Regions from separate parts of the Homo sapiens genome. Here all the other regions are linked to region 1. Evidence: promoter capture Hi-C in 16 types of primary human blood cells and fetal thymus (Javierre and others, 2016). All regions are on one chromosome and are shown on one strand. The core of a region is centred on a gene start or on the middle of the fragment in contact, and the rest is flanking DNA. Distances in the headings are between cores, read along the strand shown. Region 1 holds the start of EIF3A (eukaryotic translation initiation factor 3 subunit A). Region 2 overlaps CACUL1 (CDK2 associated cullin domain 1). Region 3 overlaps TIAL1 (TIA1 cytotoxic granule associated RNA binding protein like 1). Region 4 overlaps RGS10 (regulator of G protein signaling 10). Region 5 overlaps GRK5 (G protein-coupled receptor kinase 5).

Region 1 (2,700 bases), core at 69-2,568:
AAACCCGAAACTTCTATTTCGGTGAAGGAAGGATGAAAATAAGAGCTATCCATGCCCTAACGATTAGAAAAATTGTCCGGTTAGAGGGGAAAAAAAAAACCCTACACAAAGTTTCTTAAGCCCAGAGCCTAGCCAAGAACATGTGCATCCCCAGAACGCCAATGTAATAAATGCCTTGGAGAGATCGGGGCACACAAGTTTTTCCCTCAAGCGCCAATGGCTGAAGTACACATATAGAAATAGAAATCGCAGACAGCAGCACTGTGGCAGAAAAAAAGAGAAAAAAGGACTGATCTGGATGTCAAGAGACGTTGGTTTTAAGTCTCTTGGCTCAACAACTCCCGGAGTGACCTTGGGGAAACCTCTCTCTAGGCCTGTTTCGTTATCTTTAAGAGGCGACCTGAAGTCCCTTTACATTAACTCTATTCCAACTTCCAGTGATTCGAAACAGGCTTTAGGACTGCTTCTAATCAATGCCAGGAAAAATGAAAAAACAAAAACAAAACAAAACAACAGGAATCAGGTTAAATGGGTCAGAGGCCCCTAAGTGGATATAAAGCAGCTGGGTAAAGGGTAAGTGGACGCCGACCCAGCAAAGCACTGAGCGCGGCTTGGAGAGCGGGGGTGGCTGCGGGAAGGCCGGGGGTGGGTCCGTAGGGCTCCCGGCCCGGGCAGGAGGTGGAGCCGAGGCTCTCGCGTGCATTGTCCCCGGGAGGGAGCCATGTTTCTTACTCCCCGGCACTCCCAGATGGCGGCCGGGGACGCGGGCCCTAAGCAGACCAAAGCCCCAGGGACCTGGAGAGCCAGAGGACGCAGGCAGCAAGGAGGGAGCTCCAGTCCGGGTAGGGGCTGTCTCCCGGGCTGCGGTCCCCGCGACGCACCCGGAGGCGGCAGGGGGAAGGAAAGGCCCCTGGGGCGACGGTTCCGGGCTACGCGCCTCCCAGACCCCAGTCGATAGAGTGAGAAGGAAACCCATGCCCAACCACCGGCTGGGACAGCGGCGGGCAGGCCGCATCGGTCTCCTCTCCCCGCGCGGGCCGGGCGGCGGAGCAGTGGGAAGCAGGCCCGCGCTCTCGACCTCGGAGGCCTCGGGCCGCCCCAGCCCGGCGCGCCCCGATCAGCTACTCACCGTTGGCGCGTTTGAGGGCATTTTCCGGCCTCTGAAAATAGGCCGGCATCTTGGCGGCAGGCTCAGCTCACCCGGCGTCAGCGAACTCTCTAGTGGCCCGGGCCGGGAGAGGAGACGAAGGGGAACCAGCGTAAGGTCCCACGCGCCTCGCCAGCAGTCGCCCGCGCCCAGCCGGCCAGAGACGGAAAGGAAGGAGCCACGTGACCTCCCCGCGGCGGCCCTGCTGCCGCCCAGGCCCCGGATGTAGGGGGCGGGTCTCCGTGCGCGCAAGCGCGCTGGCGTCACGCACGCCGACAGACGTGGCGGCGCCGGAGTCCTAGGCGCGCAAGGTCCAGTTCCCGTCTTGGGCCTGTCCTGGATAGCGTTAGGGAGACAGTTCACAGGCTCTTCAATCTTCGAGCGAGAATTAGGGTGGGAAGGGTGAGTGTGGGGTCAGAGTTTCTGTCTGGAGAACAAGCAAACGTCTGCAGATTGGTTTTCAAAGCGACTTGTGCGGAGTCGTGCAGTTACAGTAAGGTCCCATCCAGCCTGGGAATCGCCTGTCTTGGCTACGTGAAAATGCTGAGTTTAACGAAAACGCAGTGAGCAGGTGTCATCAGGTCAGCGCCGCTCAACCGTGAGAGACAATCATGGGGAAGAGTGACGCCTAAAATAAACAAGCAAGGTTCTTTTATATCTTGGTAAAGTAAAAAGTTTGTGTCACAGGGATTGCCTTGAGAAATGGAGGCTCTCAGAGGGGGCGAATGGGGACAGCGACCTGGCAAAGGGCGAAACGCCCTGGAGCACAGCAGACTTGCTTGGTGTTTGAAAACACACGGAAAGGAGTGTCGTCACTTTTTACATACAGCGCACGTCACAAACAAATTAAGAAAAATTAGTGTTAGTGAAAAAAATCAATCTGAGAGGCCCTTTTATTGTTGCTTAACAATTTTAATGTTCGCAGACGAAGTACTTTACCTAGAATTTGAAAACCATTTGAACCGAATCTAATTCTCAAGCCCTTGGTACGAAATAAAGGTGAGCTCAGAAGGAAAAAAATTTTTTTTTTTTTTGAAACGGAGTCTCGCTTTGTCGCCCAGGCTGGAGTGCAGTGGCACGATCTCGGCTCACTGCAAGCTCCGCCTTCTGGATTCACGCCATTCTCCTGCCTCAGCCTCCCGAGTAGCTGGGACTACAGGCGCCCGCCACTGCGCCCAGCTAATGTTTTGTATTTTTAGTAGAGACGGGGTTTCGCCGTGGTCTCGATCTCCTGACCTCGTGATCCGCCCTCCTCGGCCTCCCAAAGTGCTGGGATTACAGGCGTGAGCCACCGCGCCCAGCCCAGAAGGAAAATTTAGAAGGCAGCAGTGAAATAGATTATTGTCAATGTATTACACATTTAATAGACGAGATATGTGAATTAATGAATGAGGAAATCGGCCGGGCATGGTGGGTCGCGCCTGTAATCCCAGCACTTTGGGTGGCTGGGGCGGGTGGATCACCTGAGGTCAGGAGTTCGAGACCAGCTTGGCCAACATGGCGAAACCCCGTCTCTACTAAAAATACAAAACTTAGGCCTGGCGTGGTGGCTC
Region 2 (2,700 bases), core at 100-2,599, 350 kb before region 1:
AAGGATTATCTATAAAGCAGTAGCATGGAGGAATTTTTATGGCAATTAACTGTTTTGCATGAAACTATGGTGGGGGATACACCACTTCACGCATTTGTCAAGACCAAAAGAACTGTACATCAAATTACTATGTAAATTTAAAAAATCAACAAGGCTGTAGTGGTAAAGATGAAATGCAAAACACAAAAAATGAACCGAATTACAAATGAATCACATAACCCACACTGAATGGAATGGGGAATAAAGGAGTGTTTTGACTAATGTAAAGCTAAAGACAAAAAGAACCGTACATGCACGTGCGCAAACATAACAGTAGGAAGAGGCCAGACATGTAGGTCCTTATGGGCCATTGTAAAGACTTTGACTTTTACTCTAAGGTGGAAGCCTCTCTGGAGGGTTTTGAGCAGAGGAGTGACATGATCTGGCTTAGGTTTTATATGGATCATTCCAGCAGCTGTGCTGAGGGTAAACTAAGTTTGGAGGCTGTGAGCTGATATGGGGTTGGGCCAGATGGTGGCACTGAGGACAATAAGGAGAGATCAGATTTTGAAGATATTTTAAAAACAGAGTCAACAAGATTTGCTGATAGATTAGATGTGAGATGTGAAAGAAAGGTCGAGTGGCTCCAAAGTTTTTGGCTTCAGCACCGAAGGATGGGGTTGTCGTTTACTAAAATGAGGAAGACTGCACGAAAAGCTTAGCTGTCCAGCGGGCATAGCAGATACTGTTGGTGCCCCACCCATTTACCCCATCCACACCCTACGACTACTTCTCTCAATGTTCTGTCCAGCTGCCAGAGCTTGCTCTGCTTGCGGGAGGAGCAGGTAAGAAATTGTGGGAGAATTAACCCCAAAGCAGCCTTCAACCAATGACTACTGAGGATTCAGTGTCATTACCACCAGTAGCTCCCTCTCCTTTTGGGTGAGGCGACTCTAAGGCCCCTGTGCTATACTGACTCCCAGAGCTCCCCACTGGTACTAAGCTCCAGCTGCCTACAGTGGTGACTTTACCTTACTGGCTTCCTTACCTTCCCTGCCTCACTTCCCCAATCCCCCTAGAGCTGCTTCCCAGGGTCACCGTCTTGCTCTTGATACTGAAAAGTGTTACACACTAGGCTCTAGAATATGACCTTTGTATTTATGTAATCCTTAGGATTCAAAGAAAACTGAAAAAGAAATTACATTCTCACTGTGTGATTCTGAGTTACAGAATCCCTTATCAGTGTACCACCTAAACCACATGAAATACCTCTCTACACCGAAAGTTGAGAGTTGAAGGTTAGATAACACGCTCAAAAAGAAAACTGCAAGTAGTAACACCAGTAATTAACATACCTATCTTCTGGGCTCCTAAAATGCTTAGTTCAATAAACCACATGCTATGGCTCCAGCTGGGAGCACTCCTACTTCTCAAGCACAGGCTTCGCACTTTAGCAAATCACCAAGTCAAAGATATGAAGAAGAGGAAAAAGAAACCAAAATGTAAAGTCCTGCAGTTCTAAGTACAGAATGGGGACTCACTACAGAAACAGTGACTGCTGATGCTTTTAAATATCTTTGAAAAGAGACTTAAAAACCAAATTGAAAAAGGCATGTGTCACAGTAGAGAATCTTAAACCCTATTTCCACACACAAAAAAAAAAGCAGTTTCTATTTCCACACGTATTATTTATTATATACAATATACATCTATGTTACCTGAATAGTAAATAGAAAGCCAATTCAGTAACCTTATATGCTAGCTAACATAACTTTCTTCCCAGGAAGGTTCTTCATAACCATCTGCAGTCAACACTTAAAATGACAATCCAGGAAACTTCAAGATATTTGTTATTTACTTGCTTATCTCAACGCAATCCTTGGTTTAAAAAACAAAAACTCCTAGCTATTTGTTCAGTTTAACATCTGACACATATAGCCTCAGAGTGTGTGTGTAATCTTGAACTTAAAAACTAGATCCTCTTGTTAAGAGATATGTAATCACTTTCAACTTTGCCCATAGAAAAGCTTACACTCACCAAAAGAAAAAGTAGGCCAGGCGCACTGGCTCATGCCTGTAATCCCAGCACTTTGGGAGACCGAGGCGAGAGCACCGCCTGAGCCCAGAAGTTCAAGACTACACTGGGAAACATGGTAAGACCTTACCTCTACAAAAACTTAAAAAAAAAAATTAGCCGAGCGTGGTGATGCACACCTGTGGTCTCAGCTACTCGGGAGGCTGAGGCAGGAGGATCTTTCAAGCCCAAAGGTCAAGGTTGCAGTGAGCCATGTTCATAACCCTGTACTCCAGTCTGGACAACAAAGCAAGACTGTCTCAAAAACAAAACAAAACACAAAAGAGTAGCCAAAATTCATGCTATGTGTAGAAGATAGCTGATTTACTACTTTAAAATGAGAATGCTAAGATCAGAGCAGCATGACAGGATCTTAGGAGATCTGCAAGGCTGCCTATTTAGACAATACTTTTCAACTTTTTATTTCTTGATTTCTACAGTTCAGTATGAAGCCTGCATTAGAAAATACATAAGCAAAAGGAGGAAATAAAAATCACTCATAATTTCACCACCAGTATATTGCGGCTGTGCCAGTGTACTGTGCCAGTCTTTTCAATGTATATTATACGTGGCTAAAGAGTATATACAGACTTCCAATGAGGTAAAGAATTCCTTGAATTTTACTTTTTAGATAATTAACTAAATTC
Region 3 (2,700 bases), core at 162-2,661, 500 kb after region 1:
GCCTGGACAACGTAACCAGACCCTGTCTCTATAAAAAAATTACAAATTAGCTGGGCATGGTGGCATGTCCCTGTAGTCTCAGTTACTCAGGAGGCTGAGGTGAAAGGATCACTTATACCCAGGAGTTTCAGGCTACAGTGAGCTAAGATCATGCCACCGCACTCCAGCCTGGGCAACAGAGCAAGACCCTGTCTCTTACATAAATAAATTAGAAATTGAGACTAGATGAATACATGATACATGATTTTGTGAAGAATATAATTTTAACACACACAGTGGACATATCTTACTTTCTTGTGTACTTTTAGGTGCAGGTGGTTTACGAGTGGCCCAATTGGTTCGGATTTGACGACCACCCAACCACTGACCGCCCATATGCACAATCGCATTTTCTGCATCCTATGGATAAAAAAGAAAGCACAATCACAAAGAAAAGAGTGATAAATAAGACTCTGTAAGATGAAATAAAATATCGGCGCTGCTGGTTCCATACAAATCAGTAGATGAATTTACTAAATATCCTAAACAAAACGAAACTGAACTATTACCAATTAGAAAACGATTTGAACTTGAGATTCAATCTAAGCAAAAACAGAATACTCTGGCCCTTTATCTTACCACTTCAATAAAATGTAGATGACCTGTAATCCCAGCACTTTGGGAGGCCAAGGCAGGAGGATCACTTGAGATCAGAAGTTTGAGACTAGCCTGGCGAACCCAAGTGAAACCATGTCTCTACCAAAAATATAAAAATGAGCTGGGTGTGGTGGCACATGCTTGTAATCCCAGCTACTCAGGAGGCTGAGGCAGCGCGATCGCTTGAACCCGGGAGGTGGAGGTTGCAGTGGGCTGAGATGGCACCACTGGACTCCAGCCTGGGCAACAGAGCGAGACTCTATCTCAAAAAAACAAAACAAAACAAAACAAAACATTGATTTAAGTTATTGAAACTGCTTTAAAATCAAAGCCCACTTTATTATTTAATGTTACAGTTAATGCAAATGCTTACTTTGGTACCCCTTTTACAAAGAATATATGCAAAAATCAAGATGAATTGCTTAAATTTTTATTTACATAATTTGTTGTAGTCATTCACATCCCAGTTATATAAGAGTATGAATAATAATTTAAAAGGTAGAGTTAAAACTGAGATTTTCATGGTTAAAACTGAATATAATTTACCTAACCTCTAAATTCTCAGATTAGCTCATCTGTCCTAGACTTGGGCTTTACTTCTAAATCCATCTGACCTTTACCAATGTACAAACACAATTTTAATAATCTTCCTTATAGTATAATCATTCTTTTTCTAGCTATTTATTTTCGAGTTTATGAAAGAGGAATGAAATTATACTCTATTATTAAAACATACATAACATTACATAAAAGTTGTGTTTGTAGTTAACATTCAAGTATATTCAAGTTTCAGATTCAATACATTAAGTAACTAATGACTAAATTTAGTATTAAAAAATATAAATTGAGATGGAAGAACGTACCAGTTTGTTATAAAAAGATACAAAACCATAGCCTTTGGATTTTCCAGTTGCCATGTCTTTAACTACCCGGGCATCCCTGTGAAAAGAAGCACAGCTAAATGAGGGAAGTAAGAGCCACCCTCAAAATAAAAACTAAAAGGAACCACACACACTGTATTGTGAGCATTTTTAAAATAAAATTCCAGTTAGCCCTAATTAACTACAACCATTCCTGAACTCTCCCTAATGCTTCTTTACCTGTTAGAAAAAAGCAGTAGGACAAAAACATGTAATAAACATGCAACCTAATCAAATAGCCTGTGCTTTCTAAACTAAATGCTCAAATTTGAAGATTAATAGGAACAACAGTTTCCCTTTCTAATATTCTATTTACTAGTGTCCTCTAAGGTTTACTGATTCTATAAATTACTGTAACAATACTAACTACTTTACCATGCAATCTCTAAATAGTTAAATGTCTTCTGCCTAGTGATACAAAATATATGAAATATTAAAAAATTGAAAAAGAGGAAAAAATAGGAATTAAAAAGGCATACATGGCCTGTTAACAGATTTCTTTATTTTTCTTGGTCAATTCTCTACCATCATTTTGGAGTTTGGGCAGCTGTAAATTTTGAAAAATTGACATTTTCAGAAATTTAAGAAAGGAGAATAAAAAACTAACAACAATGCTAAGCACACCAGTACGAAAACAACAAATTTACACAGAAATTTTAGTGAGTAAGTTAAATGATTGGAAATATAGAACTCCACTGAATATAGAATGTTAAAATGTAAATACTAAAATATGTATATATAAATAATGTATAATAAGAATAAATAGAAATGAGAAAAAAAATCTACAACTGAGTTCCAGTGTGCACAGTTCCTTGCAGTTAGCCTTCAAGATCCTGTCCATTCTTATGAGCAATTCTGCAAAATAACCAGAATGCTATTACTTTTAATTGTGACTTGGACTTAAGAAAAACTGCAGGTCTCAGGTATAAATAAAGATTGAAAAACAGCAACCTGTATTATTTTTATATTGATTTTTAAAATAGTACTACTTACCACATTTAGATTAAAAAGCAAAGCAAATATCAAAACAGAAAGTTAAGAATTACATCTTTTAAAGAAATTAAATCTATAGAACAACAAATTGTATAGAGAAAATATTGTTGTTCTTAGTTGAAACACTTTCCTGTAAAGTAGTACTAAGATG
Region 4 (2,700 bases), core at 114-2,613, 440 kb after region 1:
AGTTGAGTTTTCTTATCTAAAGAAACAGACCCAGGGAGGCTCCGGAACAGAGAGGCACAGAGGACGGCAAGAATGAGACGCCGAACCGAATAAAGGGATTCAGGGAAATTCCAAATATAGACCCCCCGCGCCAGCAAAATTCTCCTGACACAGTTAATTAGAAATATGTTTAGTTCAGGAACATATCAGGCTTATGGCCCCCCAGGAAGAGACTAGAGGGCCCTTGTCTGGAAAAATAAAAAAGCAGAAAAAACTCAATAGGAGGATCTGAAGATGTAGTCAAAATCTCCAAAAGCAAAAAAAAAAAAAAAATTAAAAAATAGGAAGAATAAAACATGAAATTAAGGGCTCAATGCAGGGCGTGAAAGGTCATCATTGGAAAAGAGACCAGAGACAATGGAAGGAAAAAAAGTTACTAAAATGATGATAACAATAACAACATAAGACCATTTCCCAGAACTACAAATTTCCAGATTATATGGCTCCACAAAGAATTCACACAATGAATGAACTCCGCCTCTGCCTCCAAAGCCCCTGACTGAACAGTTTTAGAATACTAGTGATGAAAAGATCCTGACCAGGTGGAGTGGCTCACACCTGTAATCCCAGCACTTTGGGAGGCTGAGGCGAGAGGATTTCTTTTGGGACCAGCCTAAGCAACATGGTGAGACTGCTTAAACCCAGGAGGTCCAGGCTGCAAAGAGCCGTGACCTCACTATATTCCAGCCTGGGTGACAGAGTGAGACCCTGTCTCAAAAAGAAAAGAAAAGAAAATTGCTGGGCGTGGTGGTTCACACCTGTAATCCCAACACTTAGGGAGGCCAGGGCAGGTGGATCACCTGAGGTCAGGAGTTTGAGATCAGCCTGACCAACATGGCGAAACCCCATCTCTACTAAAAATACAAAATTAGCTGGGTGTGTTGGAGGGTGCCTGTAATCCCAGCTACTTGGGAGGCTGAGGTAGGAGAATCGCTTGAACCTGGAAGACAGAGGTTGCAGTGAGCCGAGATCATGCCATTGCACTCCAGCCTGGGCAACAAGAGCGAAACCCCATTAAAAAAAAAAAGAAAGAAAGGAAGGAAGGAAGGAAAGAAAGAAAGGAAGGAAGGAAAGAAAGGAAGGAAGGAAGGAAGGAAGGAAGGAAAGGAGGAAAGGGGAAAAATAGAAAAGAAAATAGATCCTATACTATCCCAGAGAGGGAAAAAAAGAAAAAAAAAAAAAAACAGAACAGTTTACATATAAATTACTGATTCTCAACAAAAGTAGAAGACTAAGGAATAATGTCTTCAAACTTCTGAGTGTGTTTCACCCCAGAATTCTATGCTCTGTCAGATTATCAGTGAAGTAGGAGAGTAGGGAAAAAAATAACATTTCCACTCAACAAGGTCTTTACATACCTACCTGCCAGACCCCCCTTCTCAGGAAGCTATTGCCAGCTGTGTTTTGGGCTCTTCTCTCATGAGTCATTCTGGAGGGAAGAAGTCATTCTCGTGTGCTGTTCCCAAAATGAGGGAATGACTCAGGAGAGAAGAGGACTTGGATCCAGGAAATGGAATGCCTTCATCCTACAAAGAGGAAGGAAGTTCACCATGTGTCAGGCATGGGTCTAGACCCTCGGAGACAGTGGGGAAGAAGAGGCCCCCCACTCCCAGATTCCAGAAGACAAACCACACAGAAGACGGACAAGTAAATGACATGGATATGTGAAGTTGTTGAATGCTGGATAATCCACGTCAAGGAATGAACCAACACAGGTCCTATTAAAACAACAGAGGCGAGAGTGGGATTTGTATCGACTCCTCAACAGCCTTAGTTGATGGAGAGAGAAAAATCCTCCCATGGTCTCCCTGCTGGAACAGATGTGATAAGTTTGACTGTGAAATCCAGTTAGGTTACGTGCACAACAGAGGATTAAAAAGAACTGGCCGGGCGCGGTGGCTCACGTCTGTAGTCCCAGCACTTTGAAAGGCCGAGGCGGGTGGATCATCTGAGGTCAGGAGTTTGAGACCAACCTCGCCAACATGGTGAAACCCATCTCTACTAAAAATACAAAAATTAGCTGGGCATGGTGGCACATGCCTGTAATCCCAGCTACTCAGTAGGCTGAGGCAGAAGAATCACTTGAACCCGGGAGGCGGAGATTGCAGTGAGCAGAGATCGTGCCACTGCACTCTAGCCTGGGCGAGAAGAGCGAAACTCCGTCTCAAAAAAAAAAAAAAAAACAAAGACATTCAGTTAGGCGACTTCTCCCAGTGCCTATGTTCCTCCACACTTTTTGTAGTAATTTAGAGCTTACTCCCTGGTTTTACTTCCTAGGCAGCGGGACTCACTAGGGAATGCCTGGAGTCAGAAATGTGGCTCTGAATTCTTTTTTTTTTTGTTGAGACAGGGTGTCACTTTGTCATCCAGGCTGGAGTGCAGTGGCGCAATCATACCTCACTGCAGCCTTGACCTCCCTGGGCAACTACAGGCGCACTCCATCATGTCTAGCTAATTTTTTTTTTTTTTTTGGTATTTTTTGTAGAGACAAGGTCTCACCATGTTGCTCAGACTGGTCTTGAACTCCTGGGCTCAAGTGATCCACCCACCTTGACCTCCCAAAGTGTTATAATTGCAGGCGTGAGCCACTGTGCCCAGCCTCGGGCGAGCTGCCGCTTAACCACTCAAGTCATATCCCTGCATCTTCGAATGGGAACAGTG
Region 5 (2,700 bases), core at 19-2,518, 320 kb after region 1:
GTCTGAGTGACCTAAGGCAGCTTCTCGGCAGCCTTCCAGTCTGGTGGGCTGTTATTTTTCTGGTAGTTTCCTTTGATTCATCTAAGTCAGTGGTCTTCAACCCCGGCTGCCCAGGTGCCAGCCCTCATGGCCCACTGGAAAGCCTGGTTTCATGGGTCTAGGGTGGGGCCTAGCATCAGTGTTTGCTCAGGGCTCCCTGCTGATTCTGATGTGCAGTCTGCATGGAGCACCGCCATCCTGAGACCCAGCATCTGTGAGAGAGGGCAAAGTAGTTTGGACTAAACATCGGGGCTCCGTGGCCAGGTCTTCCCCCCCGGTTTCCTGACCTGCAGGAGAAGGGGGTTGGTCAGGTGGCCTCTAGGGGATTTCCTCCAGGGGCTGTGAGGTTCTGTAACTATAAGAAGCTCATGAGCAAACCTGTTATTGTTCTTTTTTCTCCTTCTGTTTTAGGCAGAATATGAAGTTACTCCAGATGAAAAACTGGGAGAGAAAGGGAAGGAAATTATGACCAAGTACCTCACCCCAAAGGTAAGGAGTCTTCCAAACCCCACAGCAGGTGGCACAGGAGGCCTTATGCAAAAATAGGAGCCCCTAAGTCTGTGCCAGGCCACATGGGGAGCTGTTAAGTGCTGGGCTGGTGGCTGTTGTTGACCTCCTGAGATCACAGTTCCCATCCTCCCCCAGAGAGTGCCCAAGCCTGGCAGGGCCAAGATGGGGATGGTCTAGGCCAGGACTGGAGTAGGGGCGGGATGCCTGCTTCTTGGGGCCCAGCCCCTTCAAGGGTCACCATGCTGCTGTGTGCCCACACCCAACCATTTGTGGTAGGGCAGATGGAGGCCTGGCCAAGTTCAGGAGAAGTGCCCAGAAGGAAGGGCTTAGCAGGGCAGTTCTGAGAGGTCAGCGTGGAGGGGAAGTGTTGGGGGTTGACTGGGAGGGAAAGGGGGTGCCCAACGACATCAAAGAATGAAGAGAATTCTGAAACATATTCTGGAGTATTCTGAAGGGTCAGGGGCCACCCCGACCCCACCTCGGGGCCACCCACTGGATAGTTGAAGCATCGGGGTACCATTGTCCTCAGGGTCCAGCAGCCTCGGTTCTCCAAGATCTGCTTCCTCTTGACTCACCTTCACAGAAGTGTGTTCTCAACCCATTTAGTGTTCTAGTGTCAGTGGTTCTGCCCACTTGGTCAAGCCACATTCCCTCCCTGGGCCTCTGTTTCCCTTTCTTAAAAGTGGCCTTCCTGTCAGACTCACCTCCCGGAGGTGTTGAGAGCCTGAGATGGGACCTGTGTGGGAATAGCTTTGCGTGTGTCCCATCCCCCGGGGCCAGTGGTGGCTTCACCCTGCTCAGGACCCTGTGGGCCAACCAGCTCCCCGGAAGAGTATACCTCCTGGTGCCCATCCCAGGCTGCCAGTGGACTGAGGTCACCACAGCCTGTGGAAGGTCTTGGCCATCAGTCCCCTCAACCTCCTGCACCTCTTGCACCAAATGTAGCCCTCGTTCTTCTCCAGCATCAGCAGTTGGTAGTGGCCATTGCCCTTGCAGGGTGAGACCAGCCTCACGCCCAGAAGTGTTGCCCTTTGTCACGCCCCACTCTGGACAGCCTGCTAGACGGCATTCCTAATGCGCACACAGTCGCCATCACCTTGTTGCCTCCCCTTGCTGTTTCTCTGCTGCATCCATCATAATCCATGCACTTCTCTTTCTGTGAACTGCAAACACCCCCAGCCCTTTTGCACTTTTCAGAAATGACAGAATTTATGTTTATAAAACACTTCTAGGCATAGAATAGGGCTAGTTTGCTCTGGACAAGGTGTGGCCCTGGGTAGGCACAGCTGCCCCCACCTTGGGGGCCTTGCTATGCTCCAGATATGGGCCTGTTGCTGTCTGTGAGGTTCTCAGGTGGACACAGACGAGGAGACGTTCTCAGCAGGGTCCCTGTTCACCCAGTCGCAGCCGATGTCATATTGGTGGGGCTCTGGCTAGATACATTTTTGATCTCCTGGCCACCACTCAAGATAGTGTGGACACTCTGGGCATAAACACATGCCCTGAGCTTAAAGGGGTGCATGCACCCTAGAGGGCATAATGATGACAGCTCCCTGGCTGGGCTCCTATGGTGTGCCACATGCCTCCGAGATGTCTCTGATGATTCGCGTATCCACGAGATTGCCCTATTTACAGACAGGCCACTGAGGCCACAGAGCTGAATAGCGTGAGAGGCCACTCTGCTGAAGGGGTCTTCAGCTACCCTCTGCAGAGGCATCTTCCCACGGTGGCTCAGCTTGGCCCAGTCCAGCGCTTCATCTGTGCCCCCATAGGGCTACCCAGTCACATGTGTCCCCCCCAAACAATGGCAACTAGAATGTATTGAGGACTCCTTGTGTCAGGCACCACTGTCTATAGTCCTTGCTGTCACTGTGGGATGCAGATTATATTTGTTCCATCTTACCGATAAGGAAGGAGAGGCTCAGGGGAGCTGTCACATCCCAAGTCACACAACTAGTGAGTGGCGGAGCTAGAATTTGAACCCAAGTCTGGGTGATTCTAGAGCCCTGAGTGTTTCCCCTGGGTGTAGTCTCCTCACCCGGCTTCACTGTCCTGCCACTGTCTGTGGCCTGGCTCTGATCTGCAGTGAGGGCGGAGTGCTCCCTTTGCCTGACCTTGCTGTCTGGATAGGCTCTTGTGGCTTAGCCAAGA

The links. Contacts are between HindIII fragments. The CHiCAGO score rates a contact against its expected background, and 5 or more counts as called.
Region 2: a fragment that was not itself captured here is called in contact with the fragment with the promoter of EIF3A in region 1 in 1 of 17 cell types (M1 macrophages); the score reaches 5.0 in M1 macrophages.
Region 3: a contact is called between a fragment that was not itself captured here and the fragment with the promoter of EIF3A in region 1, in 2 of 17 cell types (activated CD4 T cells and monocytes). The highest score is 6.9, in activated CD4 T cells.
Region 4: a contact is called between a fragment that was not itself captured here and the fragment with the promoter of EIF3A in region 1, in 11 of 17 cell types (erythroblasts, activated CD4 T cells, total B cells and 8 more). The highest score is 10.6, in erythroblasts.
Region 5: a contact is called between a fragment that was not itself captured here and the fragment with the promoter of EIF3A in region 1, in 2 of 17 cell types (monocytes and neutrophils). The highest score is 7.1, in monocytes.

What each region holds. Positions count from the first base shown.
Region 1 is chr10:119,079,499-119,082,198 of GRCh38, forward strand. EIF3A (eukaryotic translation initiation factor 3 subunit A) reads right to left here and starts at 1,319. Exons shown (of 22, transcript NM_003750.4): 1 at 1,130-1,319. The coding sequence starts at 1,178. RefSeq lists a silencer at 784-1,043 and enhancers at 1,049-1,811, 1,239-1,533. The HindIII fragment of the contact is 5,277 bases long and covers 1-2,700 here.
Region 2 is chr10:118,731,699-118,734,398 of GRCh38, forward strand. All of the region lies in intron 1 of CACUL1 (CDK2 associated cullin domain 1), which reads right to left. Among named protein-coding and RNA genes, the nearest start is that of CACUL1, 22 kb to the right of the region's middle. The HindIII fragment of the contact is 1,310 bases long and covers 695-2,004 here.
Region 3 is chr10:119,578,436-119,581,135 of GRCh38, forward strand. TIAL1 (TIA1 cytotoxic granule associated RNA binding protein like 1) reads right to left here. Exons shown (of 12, transcript NM_003252.4): 6 at 1,500-1,575; 7 at 291-399. Among named protein-coding and RNA genes, the nearest start is that of TIAL1, 17 kb to the right of the region's middle. The HindIII fragment of the contact is 5,652 bases long and covers 1-2,700 here.
Region 4 is chr10:119,520,514-119,523,213 of GRCh38, forward strand. The region is part of intron 3 of RGS10 (regulator of G protein signaling 10); the gene reads right to left. Among named protein-coding and RNA genes, the nearest start is that of RGS10, 21 kb to the right of the region's middle. The HindIII fragment of the contact is 8,074 bases long and covers 1-2,700 here.
Region 5 is chr10:119,396,245-119,398,944 of GRCh38, forward strand. It overlaps GRK5 (G protein-coupled receptor kinase 5), which reads left to right. Exons shown (of 16, transcript NM_005308.3): 4 at 451-528. Among named protein-coding and RNA genes, the nearest start is that of MIR4681, 20 kb to the left of the region's middle. The HindIII fragment of the contact is 9,117 bases long and covers 1-2,700 here.